2 separate regions of the Homo sapiens genome follow, and region 1 is linked to region 2. The links are contacts of gene promoters, found by promoter capture Hi-C in blood cells and fetal thymus (Javierre and others, 2016). All regions are on one chromosome and are shown on one strand. The core of a region is centred on a gene start or on the middle of the fragment in contact, and the rest is flanking DNA. Distances in the headings are between cores, read along the strand shown. Region 1 has its middle 34 kb from the start of SMIM38. Region 2 holds the start of CCND1 (cyclin D1).

Region 1 (6,030 bases), core at 2,631-5,130, 450 kb before region 2:
CTAAGAGTGGCTAAGCAATACATTCACGATGGCACAGCTGATATGTAGTGAGAGTTCAGTTTTGAACTCAGGTCTGAGAGCCCCATTTTCATGACCCTGGCATCCCCAGGGAAGTCATCCCTGCCACCCCTGGATTGGTGCTATCAGCCTTCCTGCGCAGAATGTTCCAGAATGTCATCCCCTGCCCGGGAAAACTGGCCCTTTGAGTGGCTGACCAGCCCCCACTCCCAACCACTCTCCTTGGCTCTATTTGTAAAGTGAATTACTGCATTATGGGAGGAACAAGAAGGTTCTTTATCTCCACTTGGGCAAATCCATTAGGATTAGAGGCCCCTCTGAAGCCCCTCTGAGGGGGTGACGTAAGCCTGTCTTTGGTGATTTGCAGAGTGACAGCATGATAAGGAGTCCGGGCCCGTTTTAGTGGTGACAGGACATCCTCCCCCTGCAGCACCCAAGAATTAGCGGGCCTATCTCTCCATTTATCAAAGCCCTTTGGGGGATGAGGCAATCGGGCGGAGGAGTATTGCAGCCTCTCTGTCTCGGAGTCTGTGGAGCTGTCGCTTCCCGCCAGCTTGCCCAGGTCATACAGCTGCCCAGGATCTGCGGGGTCTTCGTGACTTCCCACAGTGAGAACCAACAGAAGGGTCTCCAACTGCCAGGCTTCGTGGCCCAGGTCCCTCCAGTGTCTGACCTGCATGGCCTGCCACCCTCTAGACAATGCCCAGACTTTTGCCCTGAAATACCATGAGGATGGGGATGCCATTATCTAGCAAGGGGACCGCCATGTCTGGGGAAAAATTCAAGGGTTCTGCCTGGCTCAGGCTCAGTCTGAGGTGCTAGGGAAGATGGCAGGTCCCAAAGATGATGCCCCCTGTATATCTCCCATTCCACCTGCTCTTCTTACAAAGTAAGGTCGACACTCTCCCTTTGAGAGGAAGAGTGACCCTGTCCCTGAGCTTGTGCAGACCTGTACGCTGACAGAGTATATGGCAGGAGTGACGCCCTGTGGCTCCTGAGTTGAGGGCTGAAAAGGCAATATGGCTTTCATTTGACTCTCTCTTTCTTGGAATTCATCCTCCATGTTGTGAGGAAGCCCAAGCCACATGGAGAGGCCATGTGTGGTTCTGGCCAGCAGCCCTTGCCAGGCCCGCAGCTGACATCAGCCTCAACTGGCAGACATGAAGGTGAATGAGCCTTCAGGTGGTTCTGTCTCTAGCCTCTGAGCCACCCCAGCTGAGGCCCCAGATGTCACTGGGTGGAGAGAAACCATCCCCGCTGTGCCTGCTTGACCGGCAGAAGCCATGAGAGATAACAAATGATGATTGTTGTTTTGAGTGACTCCATCTTGGGGCAGTGTTATTCAAACAGAATAACCAGAACACATGCTGCTAATAAAGACGTATCTGAGACTGAGTGATTTATGAAGGAAAGAGGTTTAATTGGCTCACAGTCCCACATGGCTGGGGAGGCCTCACAATCATGGCTGAAGGTGAACAAGGAGCAAAATCACGTCTTACATGGCAGTAGGCAAGACAGCATGTGTAGGGGAACTCCCCTTTATAAAACCATCAGATCTCAGGAGACTTATTCACAGTCACGAGAACAGCATGGGAAAGACCCACCCGTATGATTCAATTACCTCCCACCAGATCCCTCCCATGATAAGTGGGAATTATGGAAGCTACAGGAATTATGGGAATTACAATTCAAGATGAGATTTGGGTGGACATACAGTCAAACCATATCACCGTTTGTGTGTGGAAGGCAGAATAGTGGCCCCCAAAAATGTCTTCATCCTAATCCCTGAAATTTGTGAACATGTTAGGTTACAGGACAAAGGGGAATTAAAGTCACAGATGGAATTAAGGCTAATAATCAGCAGGCCTCAAGATAGGGAGACCATCCTGAATCATCCAGCTTGGCCCAGTGTCATCACAGGGTCCTTAAAAGTGGAAGAGAGGGAGTAAGAGGAGAATCAGAGGGAGTTGTGATGGTGGAGGCAAGGCACAGAAAGATGCAGTGTTGCTGGCTTGGAACATGGAGAAGGGGCACGAGCCAGGAAATGCTGGTGGCCTCCAGAAGCTGGAAAAGGCAAGGAAATGATTTGCACCCGCAGGCTCCAGAAGGAACCTGGATTCAAGCCCTGTGAGACCTGTCCTGACCTCTGGGACTGTAGAGTGATAAGTGTCTGTTACTTTACGCTACCAAGTTTGTGGTGTTTTGTTGTAGCAGCAATAACAACTGACACAGCCTCTATGTGCTCTTGGGAATGAGAGAAGGAGATAATATCAAAGAAAAAGAGGGCCTAGCTGCAGGAGAAAGGTCTTGCATAGGTGAGAGGGAATGGGGGCCAGGACCCCAGTCATAGCCATTTAATAGTAATGCCATCAGCATCATTGTTATCAGCATCATCACCACCATTGTCATCATCATTGTCACCATCATTACCACCATCATCATCATCACCATCATCATCATAATCACCATCATCATCATTGTCGTCATAATCACCATTATCATCATTGTCATCATCACCATTATCATCGTCATCATCATCATCACCACCACCACCACCACCACCATCACCACCATCATCATCATTGTCATCATAATCACCATTATCATTATCATCATTACCACCACCACCACTACCATCATCATCATTATCATCATCATCACCACCACCATCATCGTCATCACTGTCATTATTATCATTGTCATTGTCACCATTGTTGTCATCTTCATTGTCATCATCATTATGAAGACTGTTCAGCAAAGACCCCAGGAGGTAGGGCCCCATCAGGAGACAGCATTTTCCCTGCAGGGATAGGTGGCCTCTAGCACTTAGTTCAACTCTTTCCTTTTCTGGGGATGGGGGTGCAGGAGGGAAAACCTAGGATCCCATCCAAACCCTCCACATTTTATCTCTTGCTTCATTTGCCTCTTTCTCTCCTGCCTTATTTGAGAGCTGATGTCCCTCCGACCTCTTTTGGAACACTGTTGACAGACAGCACAGGGCTGTAGGAACCCACTGGCCCTGGAGCCGACTGCCTGTGCTTGAATCCTGTCTCTAGCACCAATATTTGGGTAACCTTGGGTTATTTAACCTCTCTGTCCCTCAGTGTTCCCACCTCTAGAAGGAGATGAATGCTTCTGCCTCATAGGGGAGTTGTGACTTATACCTGGAATGAACTTTGGCCTATAATGGGTGTGTGACAAGTCTCCTCAGCATTGGACAGCTTCACTGCTCTGCGCCCAAGACTGCCCTCGTCAGTGCTGGATGAATGAGGCCAGGAGGCGGGGGAAAGAATGGAGGCAGGTGCCCAAGCTTGGGTTTGGGGCAACATCGAGCTAAAGAGCCAGAAGGCAGGGCTGCATGATCCCAAACTCTACCAGAGGCTTCCTCTCCCTGACTCCAAAGTCCTTTAGCCCTGGGCAGGTAGAAAGAAGGCGGGGGCCGGAGATGGAGATTCCCGGTGGACAGTAATGGTGCCTGGCCGCTACCATGGCTGAAGTTTGCCCCTCTGGCCTTGCCTGGGGACTGGCAGTCTCAAGACAGTGGAGAGAGGCTAAACTCCATCCTGCCCCTGGTAGAACCTGACACTGGACATCAGAGGCATCTTGGAAGGTGGTGTCTTCCCGGCCTGTTCCAGGGCAGGCATGTGAGACAACTTTGCCCAAGAATGCAAGCACCTTCCTGGGTCCCTACCATGAGGGCTCATGTTGTTTACCATAGTAGTTTGCAGACATAAACAAAATAATAATAAAATTGATGTATTAAAGAAACTTTTCATTGAATGGAGTTTTTAATAGAAAACTTAGTTTGAAAAAAACAGACAGGCTGAGTGTGGTGGCTCACACCTGTAATCCCAGCAATTTGGGAGGCTGAGATGGGAGGATTGCTTGAGGCCAGGAGTTCAAGACCTGCCTGGACAACATAGCAAGACTTCATCTCTACAAAAAAATTAAAAATTAACCTGGTATGGTGGCATACGCCTGTGGTCCCAGCTACTCGAGAGGCTGAGGTGGGAGGATTGCTTGAGCCTGGCAGTTCGAGGCTGCAGTGAGCTATGATCGCACTGCTGCCCTCCAGCCTGGGAGACTGAGTGAGACCCTGTCTCTAAATAAATAAGTAAATAAATAAATGGTCCTCCCAGTGGACACAGCCCTGGCTGGAAGGTGGGTTCTTGGCTGAGTTTCAACCCCGTTCAACCACGTGATGTTGGGAAGATGGTGAGATCTTTCTGAATCTCAGTGTCTCCATCTGCAGAGACAGAGGCGCAAAATGGCACCACTACACAGCACTGCTCCCTGGGCCGTCAGGGGCAGGGTTCCTGGGTGGCGCCAGCCATGTGGGCTCATGTCCCCTGGCAATCTTGTGACGTCGTCTCCCATTTCCACCTGGACATTGCCCATCGGTCCCTCCATGGGTGGAAGCTTCCCTGTGATGCTGGGGGTGCAGAGCGCTCCTCCATGGTTCTGCCTGTGCCTGTGGGTGATGCCCTTGCTCGGCTGGGCTGGAAGTGGCCACTTGGCCGTACAAAGCACTCTCCATCTGTGATAGGATGACTTCACAGCCGCAGCTGGGTCTCCTGGGCCTCTCGGACCCTTCCTCAGAAGGCTCTCAGGGCTCTGCAGCTGGGCAGAGCCTGCATGATTCGTGGCACTGTCCCTTTCTCCCTTGATTTCTCTGCACCTCAGTCTTCCCATCTGTAAAGTGGGGATGCTGACAGCCCATGCGGTAGGGTGTTAGGAAAAGCAGGCAGAGAATGCCCGGGGAAGACCTGGCTGGCGGTTGACCTGCAGTGAGTAGTGGTGAGGGGCAGTGTTGCCACTTGAGGAATAGCGCTGAGAGAGACCAGGCAGAGGTGAGGTTTTGAGACCAGGGAGATGTTCAGGGTGACTGGGGTGGTGGGTAGTGAGAAGGGGAGACTACAGCGTTGTTAGGGGCTTGGAAGTCTGAGCTAAAGAGCTTAGACTTCATGTTGTAGCATGGAAGAGCTGGTTGTAGGGCTGAAGAGACAGAAACAGAGAAGGCAAGCAACGTAGCCAATGTCACATGGCCCATTTTTTTTTTTTTTGAGATGGAGTTTAGCTCTTGTTGCCGAGACTGGAGTGCAATGGCATGATCTCGGCTAGCTGCAACCTCCGCGTCCTGGGTTCAAGCAATTCTCCTGTCTCAGCCTCCCGAGTAGCTGGGATTACAGGCATGCGCTATCACGGCTGGCTAATTTTGTATTTCTAGTAGAGACGGGGTTTCTCCATGTTGGTCAGGCTGGTCTCAAACTCCTGATCTCAAGTGATCCTCCCACCTCGGCCTCCCAAAGTGCTGGGATTACAGGCATGAGCCACCATGCCCAGCCCACACTGCACTTTAGTGGCAAACTGGGATGAGGATGGGCATCCTGTTTCTCTACCTCTCAACAGTGTCTGAGCCTTGGGTGCAGCCTTGCAGGTGAAACCCTGGGCTGAGAGTAGAGGCTGTAGCGCCCTTGACCTTGAGTGCAGGTGACATTTCCAAGCTGTCTTTAATTTGCCTTGAAATCAGGCACAAATCCTTTGCAAAACAGGAAACTCTCTCTTTGGGACTGACATGAAATAGTATTGCTATTGAATTAAAGAGTTAGAGCTGTCTCAAAGGAGTGGCATATTGAAATAGCCGGTGGGGTCAGCCCAGCCTGGCTAAGCCTTTGATAGCACAGCTGATAATAGACCCCGGCCTATAAATACCGGGAATCAATCACGGGCTGGAGCTGCTGACAGCCTGCATGTTCACATATCATGGCAGATGGGCGGGAGGCAGGGGCGGCGATTTGTCTTGCCTTTCAGATGGATTTCCTGTTTTCTAGGGAGTGGGAAAGGACCCATCTGGTAATCAGATCGTGGCCAAGATCACCTCCTCTGGGTCACTGGCCCCTGCTCCATGTGTCCCCTCGGCCACGTGGCCCCAGCATTGCGGCGGTCAGGCGGCCGGGCCTCTGAAAATGAGAGCCACACCAGGAGGCCTCTCGCCCCGTGGAAGCTTCCGGA
Region 2 (5,922 bases), core at 3,199-5,698:
GCGCGGCCTCGCGCGGTTCCCGAGCCACGGCCCAGGGTCCGGCGGCGCGCGCTCTCGCCTCCTCCCCTCACCTCTCCCAGCCGCACCCCGGCCCTGGCCCTGCCGCCCAGAACTCGCTGGGCAAGTCGTGCCCCGCGTGAACACACAGAAGGGGCTTGGGGACCGAGCGCGGCCCATCAGTCCCTCAGACCCTGAGGACCCAGAATTCCCTAAGGGGTCCGAATCCGAGTCCTGCCCCCAGCCCTTAAGGCACGGGCTCCAGGGACCCCAGGGGAAGGGCGCGGGGCATTAGGTACGCAACCCGTTTCCCCGCACCTGGAAAAAAACTCCCTTTCCCTCCCCTCCCCTGCTTGTTGAGTGTCCGGATAACCAGAACTCTAAGGCGCCCCGTAATAACGACCCCGCTGTCCCTCCACCCACCCCCAAGTGCCAAAGCGAGGGATGGAAGCGCTTTCAAGCGTTCCAAGGGCATTGAGGAGCGAGCTGGAGAGGCGCGGGGATGCGGGGTCCTCCCCGCAGTCTTCCGGAAAGGGCGGGGGAGGGCGCGGCAAGTTCCGGAGTGGGGCATGCCGTGGGAGCCCACGAGGGCCTCAGCGCGGATCCTCCGCCGGAAAACCGGCTCCCGCGAGCCGCCGCCGCAGGTTTCCTAGGCCCCGCGAGTCCCGCAGCGAAGCCCTGCGTCTCCGTCCGACGCGGGGGTCTGCTCAGCCTCGGGTGGGCCGCGGCCAGGCCTGACTGCGGGGGAGAGGGCCGAACGTGACCTCCGAGGTCACCCCCAGCCAGCTTTCTCTCCTGTGGTCGGAAGTGGTTTTCTTCTCGATCTGGGCGCCTACTCCCCACCACTTGGTCTGAGAGGGGCTGGGGCCGGAAGGCCAGGGAATCTCTGGTGGATTTGGGGGTTCATATTGCTCAGGGTACCAGCCGATGCGTTTTGAGGGGCGGGAGTCGAGGAATTAGAATCGCCTTTAACCCTCAAGAGTTGCGCCTTCAGCCTCGGGATCCCAGATGCGTCGTTGGAGCCAGGGCCGCCCCCCTACCTGTTGGGTTTGCGTTTTAACTCCAGCGCACACCTTGCCGGCAGCCCTCGGAGCTAGGGGAGGGGTCTCGTTTCCCCGCAGCCCGCCGGACAGACGACTGGGGCACGGGAGGGGCGGTGGCAGGGTGGTCTGTGTGTGGCTGAAACTAATTGATCTGGAGCGGAAACGCACGTCTGCGGTTGGGGCGATGGGGGGGGCGGTGCGGCTGTCCATGTGCCGAGCGTGTGGCTGTCTCGGGTGGGCACTGGGGCCGGAGTTCGCCCCGGCCCACCTCGCAGTTTTGGGGCGCCTGGGATCGGCGCTACGTAAGCGAAGCAGAGCTGCCATAGCACGTGGGCCGCCACGCGCACCCCAAAAGCAAGCAGTGTGGGGGGAAGGGGAGCTCGAGCGCCTTCGGAGCCCAGGGGCCGGCTTTCGGAAGCGTTTTCCCGGGCGACTTAAGGGCTTAACAATGGAAAACTCGCGGAGCCTGAGCCAAGTCCTTTCAAGTCGCCGCCAGGTATGCGGCTGCAGGTGACCCCACCTGGGTGCGCCCGCCCGCCAGCCGCCCTGGTGGAAAAGCGGGTGCGGGAGGTCGCTGGCGAAAGGTCGGGACTGGTCCCTGCACCACCCGCCCCCAACCCAAGCCCCGAGCCCCGCGGCGCGCAGCCGCGCTGAGTCCCGGGGTCTGCGTCGCGGCGCGCCGGTTCCTGAATGAACGCGCTCCCTTCCCCCGCCTGAATGAAGGTTCCCACAGCCAGGGACGGTGGCGAACACGCGCCTGCAGCGGAATTCGCTTTCTCCTGACCGACCATCCGCCCAGGCCGCGGTCACCGGGGCGGGGGCCAGGGGGCGAGGAAAGCGTGAAGGTGATTTCAGTTAATTTTGGATTTTCTTTCAAACAACGTGGTTACCCTCCCGACTGGGCCACTTGCCCTTTGTCTCCAAATGGTCACCAAGAAATAAGAACAGAGCACTTTAAATGAGCCCAGAATCCGCAGTTCCTGCTTCGTGGTGGGTTTTAAGAAGACAGTGTAAAGTAAAACTGCAACCGAAAAGTTTTTTAAAGTTGCTTTTCTCTTTGGAAAAAATAAAATCAAAATGCTTTCTCTGCGCTTCTTGAAGCAATGACCCTCAAAAGCCCAGAGGTATTGGCCCCCTCGGGGGACCCGGGGGCCGCCAAGCAGGGTTCCCCCAGGTGGGGGCTGGGCAGCTGGCGCTCCCCGCCGGGCCCCAAATTCCAGCGCCGGGCCCCAAATTCCAGCGCCTCCCCCGCGGGTTCCTGGACGGCTCTTTACGCTCGCTAACCGGGCTTGCAATTTTGCGCTCGTCCCTGAGCCGGGAAATCAACGAAGTTCCTAGTCGAGATCTGCCCGGTCCGCCTAGTAACAGCGCCGCGCCCCCATTGGCTCATGCTAATTCCAGTTTCCTCTGTCTTGCGCCCGGGATGGGGGGGTGAAGCTCCCTCCTGGACCCAGAGCCGGTTGTGCCGGAGTGGGCGAGCCTCTTTATGCCCTGCTGCCCCTAGCCGACTTCGGCCCGCTTCGCGCCTCGGGCTGGGCCAGGGCGCACGCGGGGCTCGGGGCCCCTCGCCCCACGGGATGGGAGAGGCCGGGTGATAGCTCCGGGCCCCATAAATCATCCAGGCGGCCGCCGGGTCGGGATTTTATGAATGAAAAAGCAGCTGGGCCGCCCTTGTGCGCGGGCTGATGCTCTGAGGCTTGGCTATGCGGGGGCCAACGCGATTGTGGGTGCTCGGGGAGTGGGGGGGGGCACGACCGTAGGTGCTCCCTGCTGGGGCAACCCATCGCTCCCCATGCGGAATCCGGGGGTAATTACCCCCCCAGGACCCGGAATATTAGTAATCCTAATTCCCGGCGGGGGAGGGGGCGCGGGAGGAATTCACCCTGAAAGGTGGGGGTGGGGGGGGTCGCATCTTGCTGTGAGCACCCTGGCGAAGGGGAGAGGGCTTTTTCTATCAGTTTTCTTTGAGCTTTTACTGTTAAGAGGGTACGGTGGTTTGATGACACTGAACTATATTCAAAAGGAAGTAAATGAACAGTTTTCTTAATTTGGGGCAGGTACTGTAAAAATAAAAACAAAAGTTAAGACAGTAAAATGTCCTTTTATTTTTTAATGCACCAAAGAGACAGAACCTGTAATTTTAAAAACTGTGTATTTTAATTTACATCTGCTTAAGTTTGCGATAATATTGGGGACCCTCTCATGTAACCACGAACACCTATCGATTTTGCTAAAAATCAGATCAGTACACTCGTTTGTTTAATTGATAATTGTTCTGAATTATGCCGGCTCCTGCCAGCCCCCTCACGCTCACGAATTCAGTCCCAGGGCAAATTCTAAAGGTGAAGGGACGTCTACACCCCCAACAAAACCAATTAGGAACCTTCGGTGGTCTTGTCCCAGGCAGAGGGGACTAATATTTCCAGCAATTTAATTTCTTTTTTAATTAAAAAAAATGAGTCAGAATGGAGATCACTGTTTCTCAGCTTTCCATTCAGAGGTGTGTTTCTCCCGGTTAAATTGCCGGCACGGGAAGGGAGGGGGTGCAGTTGGGGACCCCCGCAAGGACCGACTGGTCAAGGTAGGAAGGCAGCCCGAAGAGTCTCCAGGCTAGAAGGACAAGATGAAGGAAATGCTGGCCACCATCTTGGGCTGCTGCTGGAATTTTCGGGCATTTATTTTATTTTATTTTTTGAGCGAGCGCATGCTAAGCTGAAATCCCTTTAACTTTTAGGGTTACCCCCTTGGGCATTTGCAACGACGCCCCTGTGCGCCGGAATGAAACTTGCACAGGGGTTGTGTGCCCGGTCCTCCCCGTCCTTGCATGCTAAATTAGTTCTTGCAATTTACACGTGTTAATGAAAATGAAAGAAGATGCAGTCGCTGAGATTCTTTGGCCGTCTGTCCGCCCGTGGGTGCCCTCGTGGCGTTCTTGGAAATGCGCCCATTCTGCCGGCTTGGATATGGGGTGTCGCCGCGCCCCAGTCACCCCTTCTCGTGGTCTCCCCAGGCTGCGTGTGGCCTGCCGGCCTTCCTAGTTGTCCCCTACTGCAGAGCCACCTCCACCTCACCCCCTAAATCCCGGGGGACCCACTCGAGGCGGACGGGGCCCCCTGCACCCCTCTTCCCTGGCGGGGAGAAAGGCTGCAGCGGGGCGATTTGCATTTCTATGAAAACCGGACTACAGGGGCAACTCCGCCGCAGGGCAGGCGCGGCGCCTCAGGGATGGCTTTTGGGCTCTGCCCCTCGCTGCTCCCGGCGTTTGGCGCCCGCGCCCCCTCCCCCTGCGCCCGCCCCCGCCCCCCTCCCGCTCCCATTCTCTGCCGGGCTTTGATCTTTGCTTAACAACAGTAACGTCACACGGACTACAGGGGAGTTTTGTTGAAGTTGCAAAGTCCTGGAGCCTCCAGAGGGCTGTCGGCGCAGTAGCAGCGAGCAGCAGAGTCCGCACGCTCCGGCGAGGGGCAGAAGAGCGCGAGGGAGCGCGGGGCAGCAGAAGCGAGAGCCGAGCGCGGACCCAGCCAGGACCCACAGCCCTCCCCAGCTGCCCAGGAAGAGCCCCAGCCATGGAACACCAGCTCCTGTGCTGCGAAGTGGAAACCATCCGCCGCGCGTACCCCGATGCCAACCTCCTCAACGACCGGGTGCTGCGGGCCATGCTGAAGGCGGAGGAGACCTGCGCGCCCTCGGTGTCCTACTTCAAATGTGTGCAGAAGGAGGTCCTGCCGTCCATGCGGAAGATCGTCGCCACCTGGATGCTGGAGGTGCGGGGCTTCGGGCGGCTCTCTTAAGACTTCCCTGCAACTTGTTGCCCAGACCCACGTTTCTTTGCTACTCACCCCCCTCCCTTCTCTCCCGCTAGAACTTTGAAGTTTGCCGTGGTGTTTCTAGGGATCCGTATTTTCAAAATAAAAATTGCGGGTATTTTCTGAAGGAGGAAGGGGTGGGGGTGGGGGTGCTAGAAGTAGCGTTTCGTGGGAGGGGAGAAGGGGGTCCGGGAGGGGTGCCTTCGGGAGAAGCCAGTGCCAGGGGCACCCCAATGGGCCCGAGGGTGCGGGCTGGCAGGCTGGGTGCGCTTTGTGTCCCCCGCCTGCGCCCCAGCCCGGCTGCGCCTCAGCGGCCGGGAGCCGCCAACTCCGGGGGGAGGGGGCATAGATTTGATTTTTAAATTAATATCCATGGACACGTATGCAAGGGCCGCTCGTGCCAGTATTATGCGCCATCTTTGCTCTTTTATTGCAAAGCAAAAGTGTTTATTAATAATTGGGGGCAGGGTGGGGGCGGGGAGCGGCCGCCGGGCGCTGGGGCCGCAGCTAAGGGCCGCGCGGCTGCCGGGAGCCCGCGGGAGGGGCGCAGGGACGCGGCATGGGTAGTTTTGGGGGGACGCCGCTAGGGAAGGGGGGGCCTTTGTTCAAGCAGCGAGTCCCGGGGCGCCCCGAACGGGCAGCCTGGGCCGGAGAGCACGGCGAGCTGCAAGGTCGCGTGGCCCCCAAGACGCCAGGGCTTGATCCCCGTCTGCAGGGATATCGGCTTGGAGGACCTTCTCCGAGCGAGCCGGGGGCCTGGGAGCACATTTTCAGACCTTCGGTGGGCGCCTGAGGGGCCCGCAAGTATTTTAAAATAATTTTTGAAAGTGCGGCGTGGTGCCCTTGCGAGAGGGAAACGCCGCCCGCGCCCAGGGGGAAGGGGGGGCCCCGGAGTTTGAATTCCTGGGGCTCCCCCCGGAGCCTGTAACGAACTCCCAACCCCCGGCCTGGGTAAAGGGTCGCCCGAGGGTCATTTTCAGGGTTTTTTTATGCACTTAGTTATTTTTTTAATATTTTTAAATATTTTTTGAAAAGATGACGTCTGGGGAAATGCGGCGCGGCGGCCTGGGACGCCA

What was found. The method cuts DNA at HindIII sites, captures the fragments that hold promoters and counts their contacts. A CHiCAGO score of 5 or more calls a contact.
Region 1: a contact is called between a fragment that was not itself captured here and the fragment with the promoter of CCND1 in region 2, in 1 of 17 cell types (M1 macrophages). The highest score is 5.9, in M1 macrophages.

What each region holds. Positions count from the first base shown.
Region 1 is chr11:69,186,634-69,192,663 of GRCh38, forward strand. No RefSeq gene overlaps it. Among named protein-coding and RNA genes, the nearest start is that of SMIM38, 34 kb to the left of the region's middle. The HindIII fragment of the contact is 1,109 bases long and covers 3,327-4,435 here.
Region 2 is chr11:69,636,708-69,642,629 of GRCh38, forward strand. It overlaps CCND1 (cyclin D1), which reads left to right and starts at 4,449. Exons shown (of 5, transcript NM_053056.3): 1 at 4,449-4,804. The coding sequence starts at 4,607. RefSeq lists a silencer at 1,317-1,520 and enhancers at 1,333-2,273, 2,274-3,212, 4,720-5,422. The HindIII fragment of the contact is 14,749 bases long and covers 1-5,922 here.